Linked DNA regions of Homo sapiens: all the other regions are linked to region 1. The links are contacts of gene promoters, found by promoter capture Hi-C in human tissues and cell types (Jung and others, 2019). All regions are on one chromosome and are shown on one strand. Each heading gives the region's core, a stretch centred on a gene start or on the middle of the fragment in contact. The rest is flanking DNA. Distances are from core to core; before and after follow the strand shown. Region 1 holds the start of GINS4 (GINS complex subunit 4). Region 2 has its middle 47 kb from the start of MIR548AO. Region 3 has its middle 11 kb from the start of MIR548AO.

Region 1 (3,891 bases), core at 651-3,150:
GTGAGAACATAGACCCCACCTCTTGATGGAGGAGTGTCAATGTCACATGGTAAGAAGGGTATGTGGGGTGAGATCCATATTAGAGCAGCTATGTTTGGGAAACACACTCTGCCACAACCAAAAACCACTGGATTACCAAACCGTTGAAACAGACCTTGAAATAACCACCTATTTGCCACTCACAAAATTCATTTCATAAGACACAGCTCAAATGTCCCTTCCTTTTGGGAATCCCGTGCTGATATGCCCCAGCTTACACAGCGCTTTGTAAAGATGCCTACTCTCTCACTCGGCTTATTCTATTGTCATTTTCATAACAGGATTGTAATCAGGCAGGTACGATCATACTATATTAGCCAATCATTTTACTAGTCAATCAATATGACATCATAGGGCAGCTTTGCAAAGAGCCCTCAGATTGATGGAGAAGAGATACTTTTAGGGAAGCCAGAAGCAACGCTTTGCACAGAAAACAAAGGACAGCAAAGAGAAAAGAATCAGCAACTCAGAGAAGAAAAACTGGATCACACAAAGATGGAAAAAATATATACATATACAGACATGGGTTTTTGTGCTTTTCCCCTCCAGAAGGTGAGTTGAAAGCATTGCCCCAAAGCAGTGATTCTCTTTTCTTTTTTCTTTTTTTTTCTTTTTTTTGAGATGGAGTCTGGCTCTGTCTCCCAGGCTGGAGTGCAGTGACGCCATCTTGGCTCACTGCAGGCTCCGCCTCCCGGGTTCACGCCATTCTCCCGCCTCAGCCTCCCGAGTAGCTGGGACTACAGGCGCCCGCCACCACGCCCGGCTAATTTTTTTGTATTTTTAGTAGAGACGGGGTTTCACCATGTTAGCCAGGATGGTCTCGATCTCCTGACCTCGTGATCCGCCCACCTCGGCCTCCCAAAGTGCTGGGATTACAGGCGTGAGCCACCGCGCCCGGCCCCAAAGCAGTGATTCTCAAACCTCAGCTGTGTCAGGGTCACCGGGAGGGCCTGGGTCTGGTGAAATACCCCCAGTTTCTGATTCGGTGGGCCAGGGTGGGGCCTGAGAACCTGCATTTTCACGGATTCCCAGGCGATGCTTCTGCTGGTCGTCCGATCCCAGGCTTCAAGAACCAGTACCCACTTTGTGAGGCCGAGGTGGGAGGATTGCTTGGATCCTTGAGTTCGAGACCAGCCTGGCCATCATAGGGAGAACCTCCCCACCCCCAACCCCGCCACAGTTCTTTTTTTTTTTTTTTTTAATTAAAAAATAACTGGGCGTGGTGGCGCTGGCCTGTGGTCCCAGCTACTCCGGAGGCTGAGGTGGGAGGATCGCTGGAGCCCGGGAGGCGGAGGTTGCAGTGAGCTGTGGTGGTGCCACTGCACTCCAGCCTGGGCACCAGAACGAGACCCTGTCTCAAGAAAGATGAAAAGGAATATACTGGAGATTCTGAAGGCAATGACCACACTGACCACAGGTGAAACCCCGCAAAGACGGAGGAACCCAAAGAGCCACGAGAGCTGTGGGTGGAGACGGCCCAGGAGGCTGCAGCGGCCTGCTTTCAACAGCATACTTCTGGGTGGGACCCCCCGGGGCGGACACCGCCGCTCCCCTTGGCCGCGGTGGCGGGCGCCCCCTCCCGACGCTCTTGGGTAGTGCAACCCGGACCGCACAGCGGAGCGGCCGGCCCCCAGGTGGGCGGGGCCAACCCGGACCAGCCTCCCGCCGCCTCAAGTCCTTGGGTTGCTGGGACTGCAGGCCGCCGCGAAGACAGTCCCCGCCCGCCGGGTGGGCGGGCCCAAGGAGACCGCCCCGCTCTTCCCCCCGGGCCTTGATTGGTCAGCGTCGCCCTTGCGCGATGACGTCGTGCCTGGGCGGAAACTTTGCGAGAGTAGCGCGGGAGCTGAGAAGTTGCAGGGTTGAGTTGGTCCCGGCAAGTCCTTGAGCAGTTTGTTCCTCTGTCTTCCCGCTTCCTGGTGCCCCGACTGCGTCCCCACGAACGCCCCGTCCTTACCGCCGGCTGCTGTGGAGTGCCTCGCTGTCTCCCAGGTCCCCGAGTGAGCGTCGAATGGGACCTCTGTGGCTAGGGCAGGCCTGTGTGGGTGGCACTGAGAGGGAGGAGGGGAGGGGGATGTTCGCAGTTTCCTTGCGACCCCAGGGACTTTCTTTGTCCCCGCCATCCACCTCCTTAGGCCTTTGGGATCGCCGACTGGTCTAATGTCGCCGGCCCTTGTGGCTCTGGGAAATTAGCATTGATTAATCTTCCTAACAATTTTTGTTTTTATAGAGACAGGATCTCCCTATGTTGCCCAGGCTGGTCTCGAACTCCTGGGCTCAAGGTATCTTCCTGCCTCGGCTTCCCAAAGTGCTGGGATTACAGGCGTGAGCCCGGCCAGCTCCTAATAATGTTAAGTGCTTGCTAGGAGTCAAGCGCTGTGCTGAGCGCAGGGGCTTCCCACGTCATTGCGTCCCCAGTGCTTAGTGCCAGGCACTGAGCAGAGGCGCGATTCGTATTTGAACTAAAACGAACCCCGTCCCTGAGGAACAAGACCTCTACTGGGAAGTCAAAGAAATGAATAGTGATTGTATGGTGTGATGGGTGCTCAGCTCTTGGTGGACAGAAGTAAGGGGGAGGCTTGTTTGAGAAACGGATACCTGACCTAAGCCTTGGAGGAAGAGGCAGACACTGGAAAACTAGAGTCCCTGCGTTCTCTCACCACTTGCTAAAGGGCCTCTACAACCCCAGGAAACCTCAATAAACCTTTCCTTTCTCCAGATAGATGTCTGTTCTTGCAGATAATTAGAAAACGCATTGCAGAGTATTGGTTCTTTCCCTCTCATTAGGTTCCTGGTTTCAGAGAAGATGACCGAAGAAGTGGATTTCCTGGGACAGGACTCTGATGGGGGTAGTGAGGAAGTGGTCCTAACTCCTGCAGAGCTCATTGAAAGATTGGAGCAGGTAAGCATCCCAGATCGAATCCCTTTGCTCCAGTCAGCCTTTTTATTTAGTTCAACTGTGAATATCAGGGATCACAAGATGAGGAAACGGAATTTGGGGCTTACTTTAGAACAGGGACTGGATCTTACCATCTACATGGAAACGGGAAGCAAGAAGGACATCCTCTGTTAGAGACCTCATCATATCAAACACAGCATCCCCAAGTGGGGTCAGTAAGGGACAGCTTTGGGCACATTCAGTGAACAGTTCACAGAGCAAGGATCCACGTGATATTTTCAGGGACTGTAGAGGTCCCTGAACTTCTTTACCTTAGTCCCTTGAACATCTGCTGTTTCCCTGGAGAATGCCTGTTTAGCAAGAAAATGCTGAAATGCCTGTAAGGGAAAACTGGTCATATTTTTCCTTTTTCTCACATGTTTTTTCTTGAGTCGTCTGCTCTCCATATGTCCACTGCTTATCTAAAATCCTTTCTGAAATATTTCTCCTTTAAGTTGTAATAGCTATGACTTACTGCATATTTCCCATGTGCCAGTAACTGTGTTCTTTACACTTATATCTCATGATGCTCTGGTAACAGGAGTTCAGACTATCTGGATTTAAATCTGTCTGTGACACTCCTCTGTTATGTGATCTTGAGCAAGTTAGGGAGTTTGTCTCAAGCCGTTGCTTGCCTATAAAATTGAGACAATAGGGCCGGGCACGGTGGCTCAAGCCTGTAATGCCAGCACTTTGGGAGGCTGAGGTGGGCGGATCACCTGAGGTCCAGGAGTTCGAGACCAGCCTTACCAACATGGTAAAATCCCGTCTCTACTAAAAAACAAAAATTAGCCGGATGTGGTGGCGCATGCCTGTAATCCCAGCTACTCGGGAGGCTAAGGCCGGAGGATCACCTGAACCTGGGAGGCAGAGGTTGTGGTGAGCCAAGATCCTACCCACCATTGCACTCCAGCCTG
Region 2 (3,891 bases), core at 921-3,420, 310 kb before region 1:
CCTGCACTGATATAATTCCAGCCAAAGGAAAGAAACTTGACATGTGGTCAGCTCTTCAAAGGCCACAGCAAAGGGAAAGTGTCACATCTTTCAATTTGCCTCAGAAAAGCCTGTGGGAAGTGGGGAGGGGGTTGCAGTCTGCAGATGGGAGAGCCATGACAAACCGTTCCAGCAATGCTACCAATGGGATTGCAACCCAGTCTTCAGCAGAGCCAGGGATGCAAGGAAGAGGGGAAAGAATAGGTGGAGAGGTGGGGAGCACATGGACTCGCCTTCATGGGTACTAGGGGACGTCGTGTGGCATTCTGAGTCTGATCCTTCCTGAAACAACGCGAATGAAGAACTGCACACAACTCAACAGAGAAGAGAGCTGCCCTAGAAAGCTTTGGGTTAAGTGACATCAGGGATAGGTCCTGCCATCCTCTGTCCAGTTGGTGTCATCAGCAAAGTTTGGGCAACGTTACAGAAAACCTACAGAAGACAGTCACCCCAGCCTCAGCTGGTCAGGACTCTATAGTGGGAAGTGAACAAAAAAGAGTTTATCCCATGGCTCACCTCCTGGGAATAATGACAAAGATGATGATAACAATGGGGGCATCGGCATGAAGCAAGAGACTTCCATGCCTGATTTTACTCTGTTGTTAATTAAGTTTGTAATTCTGAGTCTACAGTGTCACCATTCTTGGCTTAGTTTGCATCTTGTAAAAGAAGAACGCTGAGGCATAGGGTGTCCTTGGCAAAGATGCGGATGTCCACTGAGGTCTGCGTGCCCCTTCCCCTCTGTGGACTAGCTGCTGCCCAGCCAGAGACTACACTTCCCAGACCCCCCTGTGATTTGTTCTCAGCAATGGAATGATGAGCAGGAGTAATTGGAGCACTTCCAGACCAAAAGGGACAAAAAACAGATGCATCTTTTCCAAACTCTCTTCTATATCCTGGCAGGATGTTGGAATCCACAGCAACCTTGGAAACCACATGCCCAGAGCCCCCATCCTTCAGCCTGTGTCCCCAAACACCCATACAGAGTGAGCGCAGACCAGGACTTGATATGAATGAGAAATAGCCCCTCATTATGTTCAACTAGTGACATTCTAAGGTCTCTCCATCAAAGCAGCCTTTAAGCTTCAAGTTTATGACTAACAATTTACAAATACTTTCTTGTTAATATTTTTAACTTAACTTGACCTAGAGAATGACAACCATGGGAAATAAGTCAGATATTTTTCTCATTTTACAAATAAAAACCTGAAGCTAAAATGCTGAAATTGTTCCCCAAAGTCATTGACAAGCAGCAGAGCCAGGAGGCAGGAGCAGGGTCTTGGATTAGGTTTGAGTGCAAGAAATAGGGTGGTGCCGGCATTCATACCACAGGGCTCTGGGTGTCATCGTGGGCCTACCTGGGACTGCCTCCGTGATTTTAAGGAATTGTTTAATTTCCCTCAGGACCGTTTCTTGGATAATAAACAGGGAACAATAGGCCATGTCAATCATGTAAAGTTGTTGTAAAGATAAGGGAAGGCCGGGCATGATGGTGCATGCCTATAATCCCAACACTTTGGGAGACCAAGGCGAGAGGATCACTAGAGCCCAGGAGTAGAAGGTTGCAGTGAGCTATGACTGTACCACTGCACTCCAGCCTGGGTGACAGAGCGAGGCTCACACTTACTGAACATCTACCACAGACCAAGCACTGTTCCACCATCTTGAATCTATTGACTCATTGACTCATCCAACCACCCTACAAGTTATATCAAGTTATATCCTCCCTATTTTCAAGATGATGAAATTAGGAAAAGTTAAGTAATTTCTCCAACAATGCATATCCTTAGCCTGGATTCTCCAGAGAGCCAAGAGGGAGGAAGGGAGGGTGGGATCCGCCCCAAGCTGGTTATCACTAAATGCATCTTCTTGACCTGGTCAGACTGTCCGCCTAGAAGCTTCTTAAGGTGTGACTAATGACTGTGAGTCTGGGGCAGGAGGATGCCTGGGTATGAGCGCTGAGTAGGGTCCCCAGGAAGCCCCAGGGCAGAAGATAAGAGGAGCCCAAGTGAGCCTGAGGCGGGGCACGGCCAGGCTGACTGCTGGAGTCAGTGGGAGTCTGTGCAGAGCTGGTCGCCACCTCTGAGGCTGGCACAAGAGACAGGCGAACTCGAAAAAGCATGCAGTCGGGCAAAGTCGGGTATGTTACAAGCCTACGATGTCATGGGGCTAGTCTTTCTCTCCTTGTGTGAAAGACGTGGTTCCCATTCCTGACCAACCACAGGGAGGCATGCATTGTGAGCTAGTTAGCTCCTGGTGGGAACAGGCTTACACAAATCCACACATATGTTCTGTTCCAGTCTACGGCCAATGCCTGTCTTGGAGGAAGAAACGACCCAAGTACAGGGAAGCTGCAGCTTTCTGCTCAGGACTGCCAGCATGTGGAGCTTCCAGGTCTAGGGTGGATGAGACACATCCCCAGGGAACTCCCTCTGGCTAGATGATTGAAGATGTTAACGATGCATATAGTTGCACCCAGCCATGCTCACCAGGGGAGAAAAATGCTGCTGCCCCCACCAAGCAAGGGTCTTTCAAGGAGCTCCTAGTCAGGCTTGTGTTTTCAAATCTGACACACACAAACACACACACACACACACACACACACACACACAAAGGCCAGGCACAATGGCTTCTGCCTGTAATCCCAGCACTTTGGGGAGGCTGAGGTAGGTGGATCACTTGAGGTCAGGAGTTCAAGACCAACCTGGCCAACATGGTGAAACCGCATCTCTACTGAAAATACAAAAATTAGCCAGGCATGGTGGCAGGCGCCCATAATCCCAGCTACTTAGGAGGCTGAGGCAGGAGAATTACTTGAACCTGGGAGGCAGAGGTTGAACTGAGCCAAGATTGCCCTACTGCACTCCAGCCTGGGGGACAGGGCAAGACTCCTTCTCAAAAAAAAAAAAAGAAAAGAAAAAGTTTAGTTCTTTGATTATACAAGTAAATACTTCTCCATTAAAAGTAATTTATACTGTTGTAGAAAAATTGGAGGTATAAATACACTTAGAAGTTTGAAGAGCTCATCTTCCCTGGTCTATGTCCTCTGCTCCTGGAGACCCAGCCTCTGTGGCCCTGTGACCTGCAGGTATTGGGAGATCCCCAGCTAGACGTCATGTCCCCTGAGATGCCTAGAAATGGTCTCTTCCCAGGGTGAGAGAGGAATGAAAACTTAAAGGAAAGAAACTCTGGGCTTCCAAGATGGCCAAATAGGAACAGCTCCAGTCTGCAGCTCCCAGCGTGATCGATGCAGAAGATGGGTGATTTCTGCATTTCCAACTGACGTACCTGGTTCATCTCACTGGGACTGTTTGGACAGTGGGTGCAGCCCACGGAGGGCAAGCTGAAGCAGGGCGGGGAATCACCTCACCTGGGAAGCACAAGGGGTCAGGGGATTTCCCTTTCATAGCCGATGGAAGCCATGACAGACTACCTGGAAAAACGGGGCACTCCTGCCCAAATACTGTGCTTTTCCCAAGGTCTTAGCAATGGGCAGACAAGGCAATTCTCTCCCGTGCCTGGCTCGGCAGGTCCCATGCTCATGGAGCCTTGCTCACTGCTAGCGTAGCAGTCTGAGATCCATCTCCTATGCCTGGCTGGGGGAGGGGCATCTGTCATTGCTGAGGCTTGAGTAGGTAAACAAAGTGGCTCTGAAGCTCAAACTAGGCAGAGCCCACTGCAGCTCAACAAGGCCCACTGCCTCTAGACTTCACCTCTGTGGGCAGGGCATAGCTGAACAAAAGGCAGCAGACAACTTCTTCAGACTTAAACGTCCCTGTCTGACAGCTCTGAAGAGAGCAGTGGTTCCCCCAGCACAGCGCTTGAGCTCTGAGAACAGACAGACTGCCTCCT
Region 3 (3,891 bases), core at 483-2,982, 270 kb before region 1:
CATTGGATGATGGGTACTTAGGTTGATTCCACATCTTTGCAACTGTGAATTGTGCTGTAATAAACATACAGGTGTAGGTGTTTTTTGATATAATGACTTTTTTCCTTTAGGTAGATACCCAGCAGTACGACTGATAGATCGAATGGTAGCTCTATTCTTAGTTATTTGAGAAATCTCCATATTGTTTTCCGTAGAGGTTATACTAACTTTCATTCCCATCAACAGTGTATAAGCATTCCCTTTTCACTGCATCCATGCCAACAAACTGTGGGTTCTGATTGCTTTATTTATATTTAAGCCCTGACACCCGGGGATCTCAGAGAAGCTGGATCCCTGGATCCTACCTGGCCAGCCAATGGGCAGGCTTCCTGAGGGTACACAGCTTTAGGACTGTGGACTCAGGCACTCCAGGGAAGCGGGAAATAAGAACTTCTCCTTAGTGCTTGCAACTGCCACATCAGAACTTAGCTGAAATCCGAGGGATCGGATCCCAAATCCTTCCTCACCAGCCCCCATCCACCAGTCCTTTTGCTCAGGTGATAGGAAGGTCATCCTAATGATAACCACGTGGTGGGTTTCAGCTGTGGAAAATTCCTGGCCCCTTTCTCCTTCTTCCCACCCCCTCCTTCTCCCCTTAAGCACACACACATGCAGCTTTCCCTTCCTTTATTTAAGCAAACAACTCTCCATGATTGGGTACAGCCCCTTCTTATCTAAATAGTCTGCAGATGCATGAAGATGCAGGCGCTTTCTGCTCCTATTCGGAGCTTGTTCTGGTGCCCATCTTCTCCAAACCTACAACAAGTGGCCTCCCTTAGACCTTGCTGACAGCAATCCCTACTGCCTGCTCCCCTAGTAAGTCAGCTCAGGGGACAGGCTGTCCTCAATGTATCAGGGGTGGGATTTTCCCTCCAAAGACTTCAATTTCCCCTCTCTTTCTTGGCTCCTCCCATAACCTGAGGTTGAAACTGCCCAGACATGAGCAAATGGAACAGGGAAAGTCCCAATTTTGTTGTCAGATTCCTATGTAACTTTAGTTGTCCAGGTACATACCACCAGTTGGTTAACACCATCAACCCCTGGTGGGTCTGGGGATGGGGGCTGAGGACTGGGAAGTTTGGTAAAGGGCACAGTCCATAATGTTAATAGATGGGAAAAATAGGAAGGAACCTGTGAGTTTCCATAATGAGCAGGGTCTGAGGGAAAAGAATTAACCCTAAGGTCTAGGACAAGAATGAAATCTAATGAGTGGGTTGAGAAGATCAGCCCCAGCTTTGGGTTTATAAGCATGACTCTCTGGTTTGATTTTCTTCCCATTCCAAAGCGTGGTCAATATTTTGAGTCCTTAGGAGATGGGCTGTGCTGATCATAGAGATGGTGATACTGTAACAGGGGGTGAGGACGCACCTGAAACCATCAGCCTGTTAGAGCTTCCCTACCCAAAGTACATTCTGCACACTGACAGCTTCACAGCTTCAGCCTCACCCGGGTACCCAAGGAAACGTGGTACACATACACTATGGAATACTACGCAGCCATAAAAAATAACAAAATCCTGTGCTTTGCAGTCACATCCAAATGCCACATGTTCTTACTAATAAGTGGGAGCTAAACAATGGGTCCACATGGACATCAAGATAGACAGAATCAATTCTGGGGACTCCAAAAGGAGGAAGGGGTGGGGGCAAGAATTGGGAAATTTCCTATTGGGTACTATGTTCACTATCTGAGTAATAGAGTCAATAGAAGCCCAAACCTCAGCATCATACAATATACCCTTGTAACAAAGCTGCACATGTGCCCCCAAATCCAAAATTTATATTTAAATTTTTAAAAGATTATTCAAATGTTAATATGGCCCACTAGTAGTTTGCAAAAAAAATTATATAATCTTTGGATTAAGAAAAATAACCTCTTTTGATATTAAAAGCATTACGAGTCATGTGTGCTTTAGGTACTTATGGATTATTTGACAAAGCTCCATTGGATAGGCCATGTATGTCTTTATACAAATAAAACTGGAAAAATATGAGGAAAAAAAAGAAAAGAAATGCAGAATTCAAGCCCACCTCAGACCTACCCTTCAGAATCGGCATTTTAACACTGGTCCTCAAGTGAGTCATATACATATTAAAATGTGAGAAACACTCCTTGGACAGCCAAATGTACTCAGTCTTAAGGAAAGAGGGCTCGTTCCCCCTTGCATTTAACTTGCCTCTATTAGCTGATGCCGGGTAAGATGAACTCACAGAGCTTCAGAAGGGACTGCGGCAATATGAAGTGTGGATGTGGGGAGAGGGAGATGACAAAATAACTTCCTGCCTCTCATCCCCGGGCCACGCAGGTCCTATGAGAATGTTTTGCAAAGTAAGATCCCGTGAACTGCTGGCATCAGAGAAACCTAGCACCTTGGTTCTAGAGCCCCTTTGCCAACCTTCCCAAACTTTCCCAATCAGAATGTCTGGGGGTGGGAGCCAAGACCCACATATTAGTAAGCTCCCCTTGGTGATACTCACATAGGCTGAAATTTAAGAACGATTCTCCCTCTGCCCTTCAATTGCTATTGGATGATTAGTACCATGTCCCACCCTCAGGAGCAAAAGTGAATTGCTAGCACTTCTGGACCCAAGGAGGGGAGACAGCCTTTGAAGTTAAGACCAGCCTACCTCTGTGTCCCTTGGTCTTTTATACCTCCTGCCTAGGGAAGTGCCGAAATTTTTCATTAAGGAGGTGCAGGTGCCATGCAGCTTGAGGACAAGCCTGTGGTTCCAAGTGCTGCCAGCATCTCTGAGGCACAAGCGTCAAGCAGTCCTGACCCTTGGGCACCCCAAACTCCACCACGGTGACTCCAGCAGCTGGAACTGAGATACCTTTGCACACACTTCATCATCCTTTTGCAGACTTAAAAAAAATGGAAATGGTGGGTCATGGTGGTGAGCTTCAGTAGGGGGTGGCAATGACATCTCCACCCAGCCTAAATAAATTTTCTTTCTTATTAACCACAGGGAGCTAAAAGGAAATATGGACATTTTCCTTGGCTGGACTAGTATCTCACTATTTTACCAGTCAGGTACATTAGCATGTGAGAATCTTTCTGGACTACAGCATGACTTTGATAGAATGTTTACAAGTCCTCATACCACACCTTAAAAAAAAAGTTGTGTCTCTGTGCTTGGGCGTGGATTTGGGTAACCTGGGAATATTTTATCACTTCTGGGTAAAACTGACAGTTGTCTGCGGTTTGGAGGTGACTTACTGATCAGGGAACTACATCCACTGAAGTTGTCACTGTAATTGCTTGCAGAATTAGAAGTCACATGGAAGAATTCCTGAGGCAAGAAGCACATAACCTAATATGAAACAGCTTGGGCTGGGTATGGTGCAGCACTCTGAGTCCAAAGGGAAGCTCGGCAGGGAGCGCAGACATCACGCCTACGCAAGTGGGATGCAGGAGCCCTGGGTTCTAATTCCAACCAGGCGAGTGACCTGGGAGTCCCAGACTAGTTGGGAAATCCCAGCTATATCCCCATCTTACGTTAAAAGAGTGGATATGTTCCTCTCCAAGGCCTCCTATGTGTCTAAGACTCCAGATAAGGACAAGTTTTCCAATTCTAGTTGGTAATTCTAACATTGAGTTGAGCCGGAGGGGAAAGAGAATGTTTCCATGAGAAACATGGAAAAGAAATTCAGGCAGGGCCGAAAGCTACATTCTTGTAGAGCAAGCATTTAACCTTCTCTCTGATCTGAAACACACACAACCAGGAGAAACACTTCTGGAAGTTATTTATAGGAGCAGATGGTAAATGGGAGGGTGGGGGCCACGGGTAGCCTGTGGTGCCTCCCAAGTTCTCCTTCAGCCCACCCACACCCAGTTACCATTTGCAAGCTGTT

What was found. The method cuts DNA at HindIII sites, captures the fragments that hold promoters and counts their contacts. A contact is called where the count stands out against the background at its distance.
Region 2: a contact is called between a fragment that was not itself captured here and the fragment with the promoter of GINS4 in region 1, in 1 of the 25 tissues and cell types used here (mesenchymal stem cells).
Region 3: a contact is called between a fragment that was not itself captured here and the fragment with the promoter of GINS4 in region 1, in 1 of the 25 tissues and cell types used here (H1 embryonic stem cells).

What each region holds. Positions count from the first base shown.
Region 1 is chr8:41,527,361-41,531,251 of GRCh38, forward strand. It overlaps GINS4 (GINS complex subunit 4), which reads left to right and starts at 1,901. Exons shown (of 8, transcript NM_032336.3): 1 at 1,901-2,036; 2 at 2,824-2,938. The coding sequence starts at 2,843. RefSeq lists a silencer at 1,447-1,876. The HindIII fragment of the contact is 17,762 bases long and covers 1-3,891 here.
Region 2 is chr8:41,221,776-41,225,666 of GRCh38, forward strand. No RefSeq gene overlaps it. Among named protein-coding and RNA genes, the nearest start is that of MIR548AO, 47 kb to the right of the region's middle. The HindIII fragment of the contact is 4,202 bases long and covers 70-3,891 here.
Region 3 is chr8:41,257,951-41,261,841 of GRCh38, forward strand. No RefSeq gene overlaps it. Among named protein-coding and RNA genes, the nearest start is that of MIR548AO, 11 kb to the right of the region's middle. RefSeq lists an enhancer at 987-1,046. The HindIII fragment of the contact is 5,420 bases long and covers 1-3,891 here.